2 separate regions of the Homo sapiens genome follow, and region 2 is linked to region 1. Evidence: promoter capture Hi-C in 16 types of primary human blood cells and fetal thymus (Javierre and others, 2016). All regions are on one chromosome and are shown on one strand. Each heading gives the region's core, a stretch centred on a gene start or on the middle of the fragment in contact. The rest is flanking DNA. Distances are from core to core; before and after follow the strand shown. Region 1 holds the start of SLC46A3 (solute carrier family 46 member 3). Region 2 holds the start of FLT3 (fms related receptor tyrosine kinase 3).

What was found. The method cuts DNA at HindIII sites, captures the fragments that hold promoters and counts their contacts. A CHiCAGO score of 5 or more calls a contact.
Region 2: a contact is called between the fragment with the promoter of FLT3 here and the fragment with the promoter of SLC46A3 in region 1, in 2 of 17 cell types (monocytes and naive CD8 T cells). The highest score is 7.2, in monocytes.

What each region holds. Positions count from the first base shown.
Region 1 is chr13:28,717,714-28,720,532 of GRCh38, reverse strand. It overlaps SLC46A3 (solute carrier family 46 member 3), which reads left to right and starts at 1,563. Exons shown (of 6, transcript NM_181785.4): 1 at 1,563-2,037; 2 at 2,511-2,723. The coding sequence starts at 2,535. The HindIII fragment of the contact is 12,183 bases long and covers 1-2,819 here.
Region 2 is chr13:28,099,192-28,101,918 of GRCh38, reverse strand. It overlaps FLT3 (fms related receptor tyrosine kinase 3), which reads left to right and starts at 1,343. Exons shown (of 24, transcript NM_004119.3): 1 at 1,343-1,451. The coding sequence starts at 1,409. RefSeq lists an enhancer at 930-1,059 and silencers at 1,170-1,229, 1,350-1,509. The HindIII fragment of the contact is 16,771 bases long and covers 1-2,727 here.

The DNA of each region.
Region 1 (2,819 bases), core at 314-2,813:
TGAGGCAGGATCATTGCTTGAATCCGGGAGGCGGAGGTTGCAGTGAGCCAAGATCCTGCAACTGCACTCCGGCCTGGGTGACAGAGCGAGACTCCACCTCAAAAAAAAAAAAAAAAAAAAAGGACATCTTCTAAGTGCCGTTTAGAATAATATAGTACTTAGTACAAAGTACTGCAACTTAAAATATTATGTCTTCCTTGCAAACTGTATCTTACTCATGTTTGTTTATCTTCTTTCCAATATCCATGCTCCATTGTTTGAAACTCATAACAAGTGCTTCATAAATGCTGATTTGAAGAAGCTGGGAAGTAAGATTAAGTGGCAAGTCCAAGGTTACCAGCTACTAAGTATCAGTTAGGACTCAAACCTAAGACGTTTAACTCTGCATTCAGTGACACAACTGTCATTTAAGGAGTGCTGAGGAAGAGAAAGCAGCTCTGACATCCAGGTGCTGGAACTATCAGCTGGGCCTTGGTGTTGCTAAGAACTTTTCTGGACCATGGTGTTCTGTCGAATGAAAACAATTTCACGGAACACCAAAGTCAGACAAGAGCATTCTGTAACCATGATCAAGACAAAAACAAGACCACGTCATAATTTTGTCTGAACACGGACAAAATTTAGGCACTGTCTAAACCACAAAAATGACAAATATGTGTGACTGTTGCTTCTTTATCATTCATGGCTTTAGCCTCTGTCTAGTCTTGACTCCTAAATAAGACTTATTAAGATACCCAATCATAGAATTACTGCCATTTCCTGACAGCAACCAATCCAGAGTAAGGCCTTGCTTTCTTGAACTCTTCCCAAAATCACATAACGCAAGCCCATAGTAAATTCTAACACCTTCTTACTGAGATGCCCCCACGGTTCCTCATGCATGCATTTCTCCTGGCTTCAAGAAGTAGTAGCTCAATTCTTTTACTACAAGTTGTTCCTGGTGGGTGTGTTGGAGAGCACTGACAACTCCTCCTATGTCCAGGGGCTGTGTTGTGTATACATGCTGAGTGTTTAATTAGACAACCCTGTAAGACTTATCATCCCCACGTGGCAGATAAAGACATGGAGGTTCATGAAAATTTAACGATTTGCCCAAGTCCCCCCTCCCCTCCCCAGGAAAAGCCAGCGACCACATTCCAACCCTCCGCTAACTCTGCATTGAGCACTCTCTTTCCTATGCCCTCCACCTGCGCCCATTCCCCTCTTCTGCGGGCCGACCGGGATCCTGCTGGGGGCTACAGCCCAAACATGTTACTTTTCCAACTGTTGTTTTATGTGTTTCTATGAGAAAGGATATTCGGATTCAGAAATGCTTTGCAACTCCAGAGCTGTTGAGCCTGCGGCGCGGCCCACCACTCAACAGCGGTGCTGAGTGGCTGCTCGGTCGCGCGGGATCCACTCCGGGCCTCCGAGGGTGGGTGCACGATCCACTAGCCACTCTCCAGGGGAGAGTGACGTCCGGGTGGACCAATCGCCGCTGGGGCACCGACCGCTGGGCCCAATCGCAGGAGAGCCGGGTAGAACAGTGACAGCGCCGCGGCAGCCGACCCCGCCTCCTCGGCGGACAGCGATGCTCAGCTGGCTGCGGCCGAGTCATCGCCTAGCGCTGGCAGGGCCGCTGACCGACCGACGGAGGCGCCGATTGGCCGATTGTCCACTGCGCAGAAGGAGCAGCTGCTCCGCGCCCCGCCGCGCCGCGCTGAGGCCGAGGTCCGCAGGGCCGCGGGGAAGCCGAGGGCTGCCGGAGAACCCTGCAGGTGTCACTCGGGACGCGGAAGTGCGCTTGCCGAGGTTTGCTTTACAATACGCTTGAGACTCCCCGACAAGCGTAATTTGGTCGAGTTCGACGGGAAAGTACTCTCCCCACCCCAGCGCCGGCCGCGTAGTCCGAGGTTACTGTCCCCGGCGCGTCCTCTGTTGCCCCAGTCCAGAGGCTGCCCTTGAACCCGGGCGCGCACGAGCGCAGGGCATCCGAGGCGACAGCCCCTGGCACGGCCCGACCTGTACCCAGCCTGGCAGGAAGACTGTAATCGTGGGGTGAGTTAAAAATAAGGCCCTTTCGATTGGGAGCTGCTTTTTAAAACGCCCCCTCCCTGTCCGTTTTTAATACGCAGCAAAATAACAATAACAATTGTGCAACTGTCGCTTCCCAAAAGGAACCTCATTGTTGAACTTACGAAAAATCAGTTGGCAATATACAGTGTGGGAACTGTACTGTGATCATTGGCTAACCAAGATGGGTGACAGTTTATGATTTCAAAGACTCAAAGGCGGCTTGAGTCCTACAATGTCCTACTCATAAAAATGGAAAGCATGGCAGCCTCAGGTTGTTACAGAGTACTCTACTCCAAAGTAAAAGTTATTCTCTGAGAAAGTGCTTACTGCCTTTTCTGTTCTCTAGTTTGCTTGTTTAAACATTTACTCCACAAAATTGCTCAAACTTACCCATCTTTGAATATCTAGCCTCTGGGATGAGACAGATGATCTTTCTCCGTTTTCACTTTTTATAGAATACAGCTACCTACCCAGGCAATATGAAGATTTTATTTGTAGAACCTGCCATTTTCCTTAGTGCATTTGCTATGACTTTGACCGGTCCACTGACAACGCAATATGTTTATCGGAGAATATGGGAAGAAACTGGCAACTACACTTTTTCATCTGATAGCAATATTTCTGAGTGTGAAAAAAACAAAAGCAGCCCAATTTTTGCATTCCAGGAGGTAAGAAATTACAATATCCATAGTATTTAATAAAATGGGAATGTATACCGGGCTTTGAGTTAAAGAGGACCGTGAACTCATCATCCATTGGTCTCT
Region 2 (2,727 bases), core at 94-2,593, 620 kb after region 1:
ACTTAGCATAATGTCAAGATTCATCCATATTTTAGCTGTATCAGAATTTCCCTCCTCTTTAAAGCTGAAAAATACTCAGTCGTATGTATATACTGCATTTTTGTTTATCATTCATCTGTTGTGGACATGGGTTACTTCTGCCTTTTGACTACTGTGAATAATGCTGCTTTCAACACGGGTGTACAGACATCTCTTCAAGACCCTGCTTTCAATTCTTTTGGCTACATGGCCAGAAATGGAATTGTTGGACCGTATTTTTTTTAATTTTTTGAGAAACCTCTATAGTGTTTTCCATAGTGGCTGCACCATGGTAGACACTTCTAAAGTTTCTGCCATACCCTAGGGGAAAGAATTATTGTACTGTAGACAACATCTAAGGAAAAGAACTGTATGGCCAAGAGTAAACAGTCAATTTTCATGCTTTATTAGAAAATAATTAAAATAATTAAGAGCGTGGAATTCCTAGAATTGGGAGAGACATTATGAACCATTTGGTCCATCCCTTTCCTTTACGATGAGTAAACAGAGGTTTGTGGAGGTCAAACGGCTAGTTAAGTAAGGGAAGAACCAGAACTGGCATCCAGAGCTTTCCAATCCTCAACTTATTGCAAAGAAAATAATAATAATTTTCAACTCGAAAAATTATGCGATGAAGAACAAGAACTATTGAGCGGATGATTCGCAACATCCTCTGGGATGTATTTTCTGTGTGTTTTGTTTTGAAGGCTGTTTGTTAACCTCCCTAATTGCCTTGGTTGACATTGAAACCCTGCCTGTTTTTCTTGATCCCGCCGCTGACTGGGTCCTGAGCATCCTAGGAGATGGAGGCAGAGACAAAGGAAATCAGTCCACAATTAAGAATGGAATGGTTCTTAATGGAATGCTCGCCTGTGCGCTGGCGGGAGTTGCCAGCGTGCCGAGCGGATTCAGCGCCTTTCTCAGGGCCTCAAAGATCCCAGCGCACTAGGAGGGTGGTTTGTGGCTCCCTGCAGTCCCCACGCCCCGGATCCAAACGACAGAGTTCGGGGACTCACAGGGGCAGCAAGGCGGCAGAGCCGCGGAGCCAGTGCAACTTCTCCGGCGGGACCGCGCCCAATCTTCCCCGCCGCAGTCGGGGAGCCCCGGGGGCCGCCGAGCACAGGCTGCGGACCGCGGCGGGCACGTGGGCTCGGCTGCAGCGCTGCGCCAGGCACCGGCTGCTCGGCTCTGCCCAACCTCTCCGCTCCCGCCTCGGTCCCTGCCTCTGGGGAGAGGGTTCCTCCCCCCTTCCACTTTGCACCAGTCCGAGGGAATTTGCGGTCGGTGACGCGCATCCTTAAGAGAGCCACCTGCAGCGCGAGGCGCGCCGCTCCAGGCGGCATCGCAGGGCTGGGCCGGCGCGGCCTGGGGACCCCGGGCTCCGGAGGCCATGCCGGCGTTGGCGCGCGACGGCGGCCAGCTGCCGCTGCTCGGTAAGGCCCCGCTCGCTCGCTCGCAGCCCCTCGCGGTCCCTCAGCCCCCACCCCGCAGTGTGGACCCGGGCGCGCGCCTCCTCCGGCCCAGCCGCCTCGCTCCTCCCCGCGCTCGCTCCTTCCATTGCCTCCCGCGCCCCTCCCCTCTTTCGCGCCCTCCGGACTCGCCCACTACTTGCCTGCGGCCCCGGCGTTTCCCACCCCGCGTCCTCTTCCCTCTTCTCCGAAGTCTCTCCTCTGGCTCGGGCCGCGGTCCCGAGTGGCGGCCCGGACTTCGCAGACGGCCTCGCCGAGGCGCTGCGCCGGGTCTGGGGCAGCTCGGCCCGCGCGCTCGGGTGCTGGGCCGTCCGTGGGAGTCTGCGGCCGCGAACTCGGCGCCAGGTGGCCAAGGACCTCTCCTGGCCCGGCCCTTGGATACTGTAGACACCTGGGTGTCGTCTTTAACTCTTCTTTTGAGGTTTTGATTTATGGAGGGAACTCTGATGGGAAAATGCGTCCGCGTTCTCCCCTAGAGCGAGTCATCCTCAATAACGATACCCCCCAGCCCCGCCGAATTTTGGTTGGATCAACGAATAGTTTACCTAGGAAATATTATGCAAACAGATTTACATATTAAAATACTAGCTGTCCCTTTCTTCTAGTCTCTTCTTATCCTGGCATAAACCCCAAAGGGGTTTTCAAGGACTCCGAGGACTGTCCCCAAAGAATCTGCTGGGTAGCATAGTTGTTATTGAAAAAAAAAATCTTCCCATCGGTTCGCGTCAGCTTTCTATTTGGAAAGATGAGAGGACTGAATCGAATTTGGGTTGAAGGCGACAGAGTTCTGGGTGCCCGGCAGCTCCGGTCCCTGTCCTAGGTCTGCAACCTTGGGACTGACACTCACCTCCCCCGGCCTCCGCGTCCTCATCTGTGCAGTGAGGGAGTCCGTCCGAGTCCCCTTCAGCTCTGAAATGCTAGGACTTGAAGTCTCTGTGGTAAATAGAGAAAATGCTTGCAATATAGAAGTGCAGGAATTATATCCAATAGCTTTTGTTACAAATAATTCTGAAATATAAAAAGTAAAAAATGGAAATCGGGGGAAAAGAGTTGAAAAACAAAGACATTTTAGTTCTTAAATAGTTATCTTTACTAGTTAGTAAATCTGTAATTTCAAATGTGTAGTACAATATGTTTTCCAGATTCCGTTAATACAAAATGTTAGCTTTCTATTATGTATGATATTAAGTAGTAAGTGCATTTTTCAGAAGCATAATGGGCTTTCTAAAGGTATAAGCAT